Regions from separate parts of the Homo sapiens genome. Here region 2 is linked to region 1. The links are contacts of gene promoters, found by promoter capture Hi-C in human tissues and cell types (Jung and others, 2019). All regions are on one chromosome and are shown on one strand. Each heading gives the region's core, a stretch centred on a gene start or on the middle of the fragment in contact. The rest is flanking DNA. Distances are from core to core; before and after follow the strand shown. Region 1 holds the start of UVRAG (UV radiation resistance associated). Region 2 overlaps UVRAG (UV radiation resistance associated).

Region 1 (6,931 bases), core at 1,162-3,661:
CTAAAAATCTGAGCATTTTGACCCCAAAAGATAAATTGATGTCAACTGCAAAAGTAAAAGTGCTTTGTTATATAGGCTGCCTTCCAAGAATTCAAGGTTGACACCCCCAGAAAGATGTAAATAGCATACTCGGCACTCATATAGCATTCAGCTGTACACTTAAGCCACTATATATCCCTCGGCACCAATCCAAAAATTTCACAAACACTAACAAATGAGGCTGAAATTATTCCATCAACAGTTTGTTTGCATTAGTTTTCCCAGTGTTAAACTGTGAACTGTTATCAGAGAATAGGCTCCATGAAGTAAATGATGCTTTCTCTTTCCTAATCCCACACACTCTCGAAGCTCCCCCAAACTAAAACCTTCTTGGCCCCTGAACTCCTTAGGACTTCTCCAGGGTGTTTCTAACGGTGCTCCCTATTCCCTCTCCCAGTAACCACTCTCACACTCTACCTCCCACACATACAAAAACTCACATTAATGCTCACTCCAGAGACGTGTCTCCCTCCCTAGCCAGACTTCTACCCTCTCCCTGTATCTCACAACACAATCCAAACCCCCACTACCCTCAAACTCCCACTATTCAGAAATTCCCTGCCAACAGCATCACAAAACCAGGGCACATGGTATCTTTTCAATCCTCTTCGGTAGTAGTCACACAAAAAGCCGTTGCTACTGTAAGCTCTTCTGCCTGCCTATTCAAAGGCAACCACAGTGGTTATTATCTCCAACTCTTCTCTTCCCTTTAGCCCCCGCCTCCTTTACTGCACTCAAATCCATTTCACTTTTCAACCACTCTCTCCCCTACAACCTCTCCCTTCCTCTTTCTGAATCCTTCCTAAGTCCCACTGGTAGCTGATGGAAAGTTGGAGGGGTGTATGAAAGAACTCACTCTGTCCTGTGTAAAGGTGGTGGAGGAAGGCTGCCCAAGTCTCAAGCACGTGCATGGCTGCAGAGTCAGACACTGGATTCTGCAACCCAGCCCCACCACTTACTAACTGGAAGGCTCTGGACAAGCCTCAGTTTCCTCAACTGCCAAATGGGGGTAATAAAAACAGCTATCTCACAGAGTTGTGAAAATTCAGTGAACTAATGGCCACTGAGCCCTTTGCACAAATCCAACACGGTAAGTTCTCAGTAAATGACAGTTTCTCTAGATCCTCTTCTTGGCAGGAGGAATAAAGGGAGAGGGTGAAAGGTATTCTTTAGGTCTCTTTAATGCTAAGATTCCTGCAAAATCTCCCCTTGGGGGACAGAAGGAAGGCAACCGATATAAGGAGGGAAGTACTCTACAGATATGTGAGTGAAACAAAGAGTTTTGTCACATCTCCAAAGTCAGTGTTTCCCCCTTCTTATCTTCCTACAACGCAGAGCCAAGAAGTCCTCAAAGCCCTTCCTAAAGGATGGAGGAACACATGAATATATACATCAAATCCTCCTTCCACAGAGACTCACTGAAGGGAATGAAGAAGGAAAAAGTCCTCCTAATTATTAAGATGCGTTCCTTGGGACTCGGAGAATTAGGAAGGAAACCCCCAAGTCTTGAATACATTTCTCTAAAGAGGCCGAATACTTAATAATCAGGGGAGATTAAAGCAAATGGTAGACACCCTAAAGTCTCCTCCAGGGCTCTTGCACGAAGAGTACAAACTGGTTTCTCCGTAAGCGGGGATGGCCAGGTGGGGAAAGAAAGGAAAAGTGCTTTCACTATGGCCCGTGGGACACAGGGGGTTCCCCGGGTCCCTTCCTGGGCGGAACGAGGGAGAGGGTCTGCGCGGGGCAATCCCCGGCTCCCTGCGTTGGGGGAGGCGGCCTCGGGCCGGGGCCCCAGGGACTTGAGCTGGCTGGCTGCTTGTCCCTTAACAAGCCCATCTCCTGTAACGGGATTCTCCTAGGACTCCGGGATCTCCCGGAGGTTCGGCCATCACTGGACCCCTCCCCGCACAAACCTCCTGACAGTCTTCCTCAGTCCCGCGAGCCCTCCGGGTCCCTGCTCTGGGTGTCCCGGCTCGCGGGGTCAGCCCGGAGCCAGCAAGCTCTCCACGCGGGCCTGCCCGGGTCCCTCCCGAGTGCTGCGAGCCGCGCGGGCTTACCTGCTGAGACGGCAGCTCCACATGCAGGGCCCGCGCGGCAGAACCGGGAGGCAGAGCAGCGGCCGGGCCCGGGGGTGGCTGGGGGACGGGGCCCCCGACCGACGCGGAGGCGCTCATCTCGATCCAGGGGCCGCCAAGCGGCGGGGCGGGCACTCTTCCGGCATCCGCCGCCGCCCCCTTGCCACCACCTACCAAGCCCCTGCAGCCTAGAAACCCGCCACCCGAGAGGCACTACTGCTCAGCCCAGACAGTAGCCGCCGCCGCTGCCGCCGCTGCCGCCGTTGCCGCCGCTGGCTAAGGAAGAGCCATATTACCGCAGTGCAACCCCTCCACCCCGCTGAGACCCGGAGCGCTCATTGGCTTAGCCCTCAAGGGGGCGGGACCCAACGGCAGAAAAGGGGCGTGCTATTGGGTAGAAGGTCTGTCCATCGCTGGCATTACTGGACTTGGGGGCGGAGGGACTCAAGGATGGCCTCAATTGCGTCTGTCAAGCCGGGGTGAAACCTGGGGCGTTGCTTCTTTTTTTCCCAGTCTAATTGGTTCTTTTACTACCAACGGGCAGAGTCTCCTGGTGGAGGCGGAAGGGCCATTGCAAGAGGTCGCTGTCAATTGTCAGTAAAGGGAAAGAGGGGTGGGGTCTTGATTAGGTAGAGCGCGCTTCTGGGCTCCGGTGTCACGTGCAGGAGGCGGGAGAGTCACCTGATTAGGGAGAACCGGTCTTCTGAGCCACTTCCGCCCTCACTGGTTGCCGTGGTAACAGGCCTCCGGTGGAGGGCGGGGACCCTCGGAAGCCAGCTGGGTGGCGATCGCTTGTCTGCCTTGGCAGGCCCCTTGTGCAGTCTTTTCCCGGCGTGAGCGTGCAGGGATTGAAAAGGAATGCTTTATGGTTCAGCAGAGAGCCACCACGCAGGATGCACTGGGACCTGAGAACCGTCGGGCAGTCCCACGAGCTCTTTCATGACCAGCTCCAACCGACAAGTACACGCCCCTTCGCACTCCACTAGCTAGTAAGCTGAGCTACAAGGTGTGCCAGGCACCCAGGACGCCGATTCACCGCTTCAGGTGGGCTGTTTGTGCTGTGTCCCCAGAAAGCCTTTGCTACTTATCCATCAGTCTTAGCTGGGGCAGGAGTCCCTTCTTCCAAAAGGCTTCTCTGAGCCTCTCTGGGACCTTGAGTTAGGAATTTTGACCCTACCGTGGGTCTGGATTATTCTATTAATTTTTTTTAACAGTGCCTCATTCTTTCGCCCGGGCTGGAGTGCAGTGGCAAAATCACGGCTCATTGCAGCCTCGACCTCCTGGGCTCAAGTGATCCTCCCACCTCACCCTCCTAAGTAGCTGGGAATACAGGCACATGCCACCAGGCCCAGCTAATTTTAAAATTTTTTTGTAAAGATGGGGTTCTGGCCATATTTCCCAGACTAGTCTCAAACTCCCAGGCTCAAGCGATCCTCCAGTCTCGGGCTCCCAAAGTGTTGGGATTACAGGCATGAGCCACCAGGCCTGGCCACATTGTCTTTTAACACATGTAAGCAGCCACCCTCCTTCCCACACACACACAAAATACTGTGAATTCTTCAAGCAAAAGGACTTTGTCTGATTCATCTCTGGATCCCCAGTGCCTGACAGAGAATCAGGAAATTTTTTTTTTTTTTTTTTGCAGTGAAGGCCCAGCTCAAATGCCACCTCTTCCATGAAGACTTCCGTGATCCACAATGATAGCATCTCCAGCAATTGCTTCTATAATGAATAGCATGAGTCATTCTGCAGGATGTTGATCTTCCTTTTTTTACTCCTAGACTGAATTTTTCCACCACCTGGATGAACATAGCAGAAAGAACATAGTGTTTTAGAGTCAGACACAATAGGAATCAGGCACTTTGGAATCTTGGCTCTACCACCTTTGAGCTATGTATCCCAAGGCAAGTCACTTCCCCTCTCTCAGCTTTAAAATAGTAATAGGATTGCTGTAGGGATTAAAGTAAATCAACATATGTAAAGTGCCCACACAGGACCTGGCATATAGTAGTTGCATTTTAAATTTTTTAAACAAAATGTAAGCATACTATCTTTCCAGGGTGTTCAGAAGCCTGAAAAACACCTTGGATCTTTTCTCAGAGCTGGATCACAAAGATGTCACACTGTCTCCTGTTCTGACACACTGAGTGGTTCCTCATGGCTGGAGCCTGGGGCGTGTGGTCAGGTGTTTGTTGAGAAAGGAGTCGCTTGATCAGGTGTTTGTTGAGAAAGGAGTCACTGGGAAATCCCAAATATTATCTGATTGAACTCATGTGGTGCCAAGATCTGGGGGAATTTCACAGAAAACACATTTCTGTTTCTAAGCTGTATTAGTTTTCTGAGGCTGCCATAACACATTATCACAATTCTTGCTTGAGCCCAAGAATTTGGGACCAGCCTGGGCAACATGGCAAAACCTTGTCTCTACAAAAATACAAAAATTAGCCCAGCATGTCGTTTTCACCTATAGTCCCAGCTACTGAGGAGGCTGAGGTGGGAGGATTACCTGAGCCTGGGGAGGTTGAGGCTGCAGTGAGTCAAGATCATGCCACTGTACTCCAGCTTGGGCAACAGACTGAGACCCCATATCAAAAACAAACGAAGAGTGATCATCCAGTTACTCACTGCTGGGTCTGAGGGAAGCCCAAAGGCAGTGGGAGCCAGAGAAAATAGTTGAGAGTCAGATTTCACAGTGGAGGTGACATTGAAACAGGGTATTGAAGGGCCAATAAGAGTTCACCAAGTCAGGAGAGAGGGAGGAAAGGACATTCCAGCAGAGAGCAGGATCTATTCTTTCCACAAGCCTTTACTGAGGTTCACCTTTGCACAGGCTAGCTACTGGGTTCTGGAAATGCAGAGCTCAAGTAAACAACCCTTCTCCCACTTTTCCCAAATGCCGAAAACATTAGGAGAACTAGGACTCTCATCCCTAGGGGCATTGGGAAGAACTCAAAAGCCTGCTGCTTGCAAAGTATTCAAGATGATGTAAAGCATTTAACACACTGTCTGGGAGATAGTACATTTTTAATAAATACTAGCTGTCATTATTTTCATATGTCCTATTTCATTCTAAAAACTTTTCTTTCTTGTTTTTGAGACAGAGTCTCTCTCTGTGACTCAGGCTGGAGTGCAGTGGTGCGATCTCAGCTCACTGCTACCTCTGCCTCCCAGGTTCAAGTGATTCTCCTGCCTCAGCCTCCCAAGTAGCTGGGACTACAGGCATGCACCACCACACCCAGCTAAGTTTTTTTGTATTTTTAGTAGAGACAGGATTTCACCATGTTGGTCAGGGTGGTCTTGAACTCCTGACCTCAAATGATCCACCCACCTCAGCCTCCCAAAGTGCTGGGATTACAGGCATGAGCCACCGCGCCCGGCCCTAAAAACTCTTTTATTATTGGGATCCTATTTCATAATATGGCTGATTGTTTCAACATAAAAATATTTTAAATCACAGAATTAAATTATTATAATATTTACATAGTGCTATATATCCCCCAGAGAAACATATATCCAAGTTTAGAGAACATAGATTATAAGGTGGCCAAATGCAATGTATATGCAATGATAGAAGGGGTCCAAGGTCAAGTGGTAAGAGTGACCAACTCTTCAGGAGCTGGTGGGCAAGGTCAGAGCAGGCTTCACCAAAGTTATAAAGGATGATTGGGAGTTTAGTAGATGAACAATAGGTGTTTAGATCTGTTTGGCTCGGGAATAGCTAGTGTTTTAACAGCTAATTAGTACCATGTTGGGTATTTAAATCAAACATTCAGTTTCCAGGGCCAAAAAGCTAAGCCTACCCCAATCCATTTGCCTCCACTTCCTCCTCCCACCTCATGGGCCTGATGCATTGGGTAAACAAGAGCAAGATAGGGCAGATGGGTCTTTCAGTGTCTCAAACTGTATTGAGTTAAATCTATCCCCTTCCTTTCAACAGAGCCCTCTTTCTTCCATTCACTTACCTGTCTAGTCAAACACCCATCAGACCTTTGCCAGGTGTCCAGCCTGGGCACTACGTTTCAGAAAATGATGCACATAGAATCCCTAACTGAAAGGAGATCGCAGCTCATTTGGTACAAAGTGGTAAGTACAATAATCGAGATGATGTATAAAGTACAGTGGAAGCACTAAGAGAAAGGTGCTAACTGTCACGTGTTGTCCAGGAAGGCTTCCTAGGAGAGGAGAGTATTCTATGCAGGAGGAACAGCATGAGCAAAGGCACAGGGGTAGAGGAAGTGACAGCAGCAGAGTCTAACATGGCTGAAACAAAGGCTGCATGGGAGAGCAACAGGCAAAAAGATTGGAAGAGGAAGCTAGGGCCGGGTGAGAAGAACCTGACTACCAGGCCGAAGAACATGAGTTTCATCGTGGGCAACAGAAAGCACTTAGAAAGATGGCTCAGGCAGCCTTGGGGGAGGGGTAGCTTTGAAGGGGCAGGACTAGAAGAGTGAGACGCTTGCAGAAAGCAGGTGAGAATTGTAAAAGAAAAAGGCCATTCCCCAAAGAAACTGCACATACCCAAGAACCCTGAAAGGCAGGTGCCTAGACAGCATTTTCCCTTCTCCTTTCCCAACTCGGCAAGGTCATTTTCTCAAAAAAGGCTTCCCAGGTCTGAACGAACTGCTACTTCCTCTGGGCTCCTACAGCAGCTGTCTGACCTCTCTTCAGTATGTGTAACTGTGTGCCTAGTCATATATTGAGCAGTCTACATTTGTCCCTCCCACTCTGCTGTGAACCTCTGCTTTTGATTTCTCTGAGTCCCCAGCATCCCAACACAGAAGACAGGCTCCATAGCGTCATTGAGCAAATGGCTGAAT
Region 2 (6,931 bases), core at 2,705-5,204, 300 kb before region 1:
ATGAGCTTGGAGCTTAATGGGTTTGCTGCAACAGTGCCAGGACACCTAGATTCTACTTTTATTGCTACAGGTTCATGGGTCAATTATGCCTGGAAAGTCAATTAATTTCTCCGTACCTTAGAACTGAGAGTTGCTGGAAATTACAGTGTTTTAGGAGTAGAAGGGCAGTCAGGTTGCAATGAGGAAGCATTTATATGTAAATAATTTGAGTAAATTGTCTACAGACATCTCAGAAGAAAAGGACCTAATCCCTAAGGTTCCAGTAATTTGTTGTGATTTGTTTCTCATTCCAAATGCTTTTTCATCTCTAATTTTGTATTTGTAATTTTGTATTCTTTTTCTTAAAAAGGATTGCCAAGGAACCACAAAGCCCAGATTCTCCCCATTCTTAAAATGAATTTGCATTCCAGCCAAGGTGCCTATTCATTGCCAATAAAGCTGCTGTGTTCATAAAGCGGCTTTTCTTAAACTATTCCCTCTCTATGAGGCGATGAGGTGAGGAAGGTGGTAGGAAAGAAGGAAGAGACAGAGCACATTCTACACAGAGGAAGAGTGAGTGCAACCACTCAGACAGGAAAGAGCTTATTCACATGACTACACAGAGGCCAGTACAGCGACAGGACGTGAGAGTGGAAAGGGAGTGGTATCAGATGAGGCAGAGGCCAAGTAGACTATGGAAGAAAACTTGGATTTCACTCTTGCCACTGAAGCTGAAGAGTGATTAAGATCTAGCCAACATTTAGAAAGATCATCCTGGCTACTTTGGAGAGTGGACAGAGGCAGGACAAGACAAGGAGACAAATTGCACTGGTGCAGCTGTTTGGGTAAGAAAAGGTGGTGGCTTGGACTGGAGTGGCAATAGCAGAGATGGGAAGTGAACAGATTGATATGTATTTTGCAGATAGTGATGACAGGGCTTGCTGATGAATAAGATTAGCTCTGATGTGAGTGGAGAAAAGAAGGGGATCAAGGATGATTCCCTGGTTTGAGCAACTGGGTAGACAGGGTCCCATTAGCTGACAGGAATTATGCTGGTGGAAGGAGGGTTTTAGCTGTGTTGAGGCTGAGATGCTTCTAATACTCCCAGGGGCAGAGTCAAGTAGGCCCCTGGCTATCCAGAGTGTGCAGGAGAGGTTTACACTGAAGACAAAACTTTGGGAGTCATAAGCATAACAGCTTTCAAAATGATGGGAATGGGTGAGAACACTTAAGAAGAGGGTAGAGAGGAGGCGGAGGAGGAAAGAAAAAAAGAGAAGAGAGTACAGAGAGAAAAAGGGAAGAGGGCCTAAGATGGGGCCATGGAGAAGCTAGAAGCAGAAAGCCAGGAGAGGGCAGTCCTGTGGAAGATAACAAGGAAGAGTGTTTCAGGAAGGCAGGAATGGCCAGCAAGGCCAGGTGCCACTGAACAGGATAAGGATGAAAAGTGACCTTTGAGTTTGGGTCTATGTTTAGAATTCGGTAGGCACCAAGCTAGATAAAAGGAATTTCAGTATACTCATAGAACTAAAAATCAGACTGGAGTGAGTTAACTAGGAATTGGAGAAATGAAACAGAAACAGACCTGTAAGCATTACAGAAATTAAATCAGTAGTTAAAAATCTACACTCTCCCCAGCAACAAACAAAAAACAGTAGTTTTTTTCTAGGTTCTACCATACCTTTAAGATAGAGATACTTCCTCCTATCTTATATGAACTGTTCTGGAGAATAGAAAAGAAGGTAAAGATCCTCAATTTATTTTATGAAGCTCTTATAACCTCATCATGTTTGCTCAATTCTAACCAAAATCAGACAAGGATTTTATGTGAAAGAAAAACTGTAGGCCAGTCTCATTTCAGTTTGCAGATGGAGACATTCTAAAATATTAGCCAAGGAATCCAATAATGTAGGAAAAAATAATACACATGACCAGGGGGCAAAGATGGTTTAACATTAGAAAAATGTAGTGTTACCTCAACAGATTCAGAATAAACATGGTAAAATTCAAAATACACATATTCATGATTAAAAAACAACTCTTAGTAACCTGAGAACAGAAAAATTCTTCCTTCTGCTAATGCAGGATATCTACCCCAATCTACAATAAATATAATACTTAATGGTGAAAAATTAGAAGCATTCTCTTTGAAGTCAGAAGACAAGGATACCCACTATCACTGCTCCTGTTCTGTAATAAAACATAGTAAGACAAGAAAAAGTAACGAAGTTATAAAAATAGAAACAATACCATTATTCACTAAAAATATGATTGTATACACAAAAAATCCAAGAGAATCGAAACAAACTATTGTAACTAATGTTAGCCAGAACACACTCTCAAAATACTAAAAATCAGTGCTATTCCTGTACATCAGCCAGAAAATGTTAACTATTATAATAAAAAAATTTACAACAGCAACCAAAACTGTAAGCTAATAGGACTAAGTATATCTAATAAAAGATGCATAGACTTTTATGAAGAAAATTATAAACCTCATGGAGGTATGTTTTAAAAAAGCAAGCGATGTAACATGTTCATAGTTAGGAAGACCCAATGTCATAAAACTGTGAAATCACTCAAAGACTCAAGTCAAGAAAAGCCAAGAGTTTTGAAGAAGAGCCTTCCCTAACAGATATTTCCCTAACAGATATGGAGGTTAGCTTTTCCCTAACAGATATCAAGAAAATTGGAGGTATTTTCCTTTTCTGTTCCTATGAAGGAACATGGCTTTAGGAGTTAACACTCTTGGCTCTCTCCATCCTCTCACTCTCTCAGAGGAGGAGGGACTTTCCTGATTGGTGAATCTAGAGGGCAAAATAGCAACTGGGTATTCTTGGCTCAGCCCTATCTGGGCTCCTGAAGAAAAGTCACCTGATCGCTGTCTGCCAATGTAGTTAAGGGCCTGCCTCTGTAGGGAAAGCCTATGGCTCTCCAGTTTACATTGTGATTATGAGGATAAGTTCAATTTTGAGTGACATCTTTGCAAGCCCGTTTTATTTCAGATCTAAAGCCCCATTTTCCAAGTAGCTTTATCAATAGTAAAATGGACATTTTGATTTTTATTTCATTCTCAAATCTCAACAACACTTTTAGAAATTACATCTTACAATAATTAAAAATGTCATACTAATCGATGGCTAGCCAAATAAAGCAACAGAACAGAATAGGGATCCTGGAAATGGATCTCTATGGATAAGCGAACTTGGTTTACAAAAGAGATGCCATTATCATCAGTGGAGAAAAGACAGACACTTCAGTAAATGGTTCAGGGACAATCTGCTATCTGTACTGAGCAAGATTCATTTAGTGTGATTAATTAGTGTTGTAGGTTGCCAATTTTCTCATTATTTTAGGTTATTTACCATTGTGTTAGAAAACCTCTTCATGAATTCTGTGCCTTGTTTCCAACTGGACCACAAATCTCTTGGGGACAGGGCTTGAGCTTTCTCATCTCTCTAAAGCACCTATCACAGAGCTTTACACAGAGACAAGCTAAATAAATACCTGCTAGCTCACTTTTATTATTCTTATTACTTTACTTTAAAACTTAATTCCTCTCTCATATTCCTGAAGGCATCCGGGTCCATATCAACACCAAGCTTTAATAATTATTTTGATGTTTTGAGTGGAATTCTTTAAACAGTTGTGTATTTGCTTAACAGGAGTCCTATCTAAGACCAGACATCTGGAACTTGCCGTTTTGAAAATCAAAGTAAAGACCAACCACAGTTTTTTTACTTTTCTGAAGGCACATCAGCAGAGCAAATCAAATTTCAGAGAGGTAGAATTTCAAATCCACACAGCAGATGATGAGAAAAATACCTGGAATCAGAAGCCAGTGCTGCCCCCAGCTGTCTAACTCTACAGGCCTGCTTTCCAGGCACGTGATTTTGTAAGTTACTGCCCACTACCCAAGGATTCAAACTTCAAGAATTACTAAATGGATACAGCCAACAACTTTCCATTTAGGTCAAGTGAATGAATCTAATGTCTTCTTTCTATCAGACTTCCCCTCTCTCCTTCTCTTTTCAAAGGTCCATGTCTATCCTGACGGAGCACTTTCAGCAGCAGCTTGCCCTCACGGTTCAACAGGTACTGACACCACACACAAGAAACATTTCAGAATGTACCTACTGGTCTCAAACTAAGTCCTGACCCCCTGACCTATTCCTTATCTGCTTTCTTCCTTTAATGCTCACAGCCATGGTCCTGATGCTCATTCTATAATCAGGCCCTTCACCTGTTCTTTGGAAAGGTCCAAGGGGCTCTGGGTCTCCCTTACCATGAATCATACTGGCTGTCTTCCAGTTTGTCTCAGCAATGCCCTCAAGGGCTCCTTGCTCAGCCACCTTCCCAAAGTTCAAGCAATATCCCCTTGGCCCCTCCTCCCTCCAAGGGGGCTACATCCTCCTTAGCCAGACGGGAGCTTAGATCTCCCCAACTGTGATGGCGCCTTTCATTTTCCTCCCATATCTCATTACAGAAGAAAACTCAGAGGCAGGTGTGGAGCAATGTGGAAGTCAGAAAAGATTTTCAGGATCCTATCCACATTACAGTTTCTGGTTATCAGAGATAAAGGTACTCACCACCTGACCATTAGTCCATGCTCCATGAAGTTTTTCAGGTTGGGAAGGGTTTGCCGCAAGTCTGGAGTCCCTAGTCCATGTTGATATCTTAGCTGTGAAGGTGAAAAAATAGAATTAAAGATATTTTGGCAGATTATAAGCTTCGGAAAAATGAACCACTAAACAAGTTATTTTTTTGAACTCTAAAAGAGGAAATGTAAATGTTTGATACTATTATCAGCCTCACAGTACTTTCCACTTACTGGGTATTTGACATATAGATAAGCACGTGTATGAGTATGCACACCCACTTAAATTACGATGGTATTTAAGGTAGCCTCTTCATCTACTTACTGTTCTCTTGCCCCCTAAACTTAGAGAAGACTAAGAGTGACCAACTGTGGAATGAGGATATTTCAAAGACCCCTGTATCTAGCCTTCTTTTCTACCCCCAGACCCTGGTAGGGTTTGCTAACACCAACTCCAGGGACATATACCAGAAAACCAGTGTTTCTTTTTAGATATTGCCAGCTTCCATTCAGCCCTCCCCTTTGTATAAACAAGGGTAAGGACCATCTTGTATTCATCTCTGACTCCAATAGTGTCTGGCATAGTGCTGGTACTTATTCAATGCTTATTAAACAAATACATTGCAACTCACTTTTGACAGAGGCTGTGCTCTGTATTTCTCTTGAGTCTCTAACGTTCCTCTTTGTCCAGACCAGAGCACATAGCTGGAGAGGTGGTACAGGGAAACTGCTGGTTTGTGGGCTAGATCTGCCCTTTGTTTGATTTATTTCTGGTAGAGGCCAATTTTCTAAAATTAAGTGTCCTTCTGAGTACTCTGGATAAGTTGCTAATGGTTTTCATCGGTCTGTTCTTCACTTCCTTTCACTGTGTCTCTGAGTATCACCATTTGCTTCCGTAACTGACCATAAAGGAGAGCCGAAGTAAGTGGATGTGCATATTCTCACACATGCTCATCCACACATCAAACACACAGTAAGTGGACAACACAGCTCTGCAAAAATGTGTTTTTCAAATGACATATTACACATGAAGAAAGTTTATAGACTTTATAAAATGTATGTCTGTGTACAAATGTGAAGGGGCATCGGTCTTAAGGTTTAACTCTTTTAGCACTTAAATTTAAGAGTGGCTAAGTCAAACTTTTAAATATATCCCTCTCTTAAAGAATAAAACCACAAATCATGTGAATAGAAAGCAGGCCTTCAGAGTAAGACAACAGGGGGCATAAATAAACACCTACTAAAAACAGTCAGTTTTCTTTTGTTTGACTCTAGAATTCAACTGATTTTTCTCTGCTTGAGTGATACTTAGAGAAAGAGTTCACTCTCACTGATTCTGGGCTTTTTAAGAAAAACCTCCAAACATAACTGGGTCTCCTGAATGGTTTGAATGAATACACACATAAAGTAAGGATGTAGAAACATACAATGTTAAAACTAAAAGGTATCTTGAATATTATTTCAGCCAATCCTTTTCTTTTGCAGATGGGAAAACTGAACCCCAGAAAGGGGAAGTAAATTATCCAGGGCCGCATGGTTCAATGGCAAAGATATTATCAGCCAGGGCCTCCTTTTCACAAACCATGCTACTCTCTACCACCTACCCCAAAGTCTGAGACGAAAACTGGTAACAATACTTGAGAAAGCAGAAGGAAAATAGTTTTTTCCTTTTTCAAACCTAGCTTGGTGACCTAAATCACCTCCTGAGATTTGCAGACCTTGAATTATAAGATCTACCCCATATTAAATGACATCATTTCTTGTATTAATATAAATGCATTTTTCCATACATTGATAAAAGCAAAATGGCTGATATCCCAACATGACGTTCCTGAATTCATTGTTTCAATAAGAAGTGAAATCGTTTACACATGGCATGGAAATTTTACCTGTGATTCATACCGAAAAATATTAAACATCAAGGAAAAAAAAAAACTTACTGAAATAACACTAAGCTATGTGTCTCCGAGTGAGTACACAGACAATTGCCTGCCCCAGGTTCCACAACGGAAGATGGGTGTTGAACTGTTTTCAGAGACCACAGTGAAAATTTCTCTCCAAGTCTGATTTTAACCAAAAAAAAGAAAAATGTGGGAATTTCAAGCCTCTGTCTGGGTCTTAACTCTCCATTTGCTGCATAGTACTATTTTTTTTTTAAATCATAGAATCTTTGAATTTTACAGCTTAAAGAGACCCTGGAGACCATCTTTCCAACCTTCTTCCTCTTATAAATGAAGAAACTAAGGCCCAGGAAGACAAGAGCATCCTGCCCAAAGTCACAGGGATGATAAGGGACAAAGCCAAGGCTAGAACCGCTTAATAACAGCTCCAAATTCTACCATATTACCCTTTTAATTT

Evidence for each region. The method cuts DNA at HindIII sites, captures the fragments that hold promoters and counts their contacts. A contact is called where the count stands out against the background at its distance.
Region 2: a fragment that was not itself captured here is called in contact with the fragment with the promoter of UVRAG in region 1 in 2 of the 25 tissues and cell types used here (H1 embryonic stem cells and hippocampus).

What each region holds. Positions count from the first base shown.
Region 1 is chr11:75,810,690-75,817,620 of GRCh38, reverse strand. UVRAG (UV radiation resistance associated) reads right to left here and starts at 2,411. Exons shown (of 15, transcript NM_003369.4): 1 at 2,097-2,411. The coding sequence starts at 2,213. UVRAG-DT (UVRAG divergent transcript) reads left to right here and starts at 2,824. Exons shown (of 2, transcript NR_144531.1): 1 at 2,824-3,158; 2 at 3,760-4,107. RefSeq lists a silencer at 2,088-2,287 and enhancers at 2,583-2,877, 2,748-3,177, 3,101-4,300, 6,910-6,931. The HindIII fragment of the contact is 17,046 bases long and covers 1-6,931 here.
Region 2 is chr11:76,113,650-76,120,580 of GRCh38, reverse strand. It overlaps UVRAG (UV radiation resistance associated), which reads right to left. Exons shown (of 15, transcript NM_003369.4): 14 at 4,566-4,657. Among named protein-coding and RNA genes, the nearest start is that of WNT11, 89 kb to the left of the region's middle. RefSeq lists an enhancer at 1-38. The HindIII fragment of the contact is 4,823 bases long and covers 1,543-6,365 here.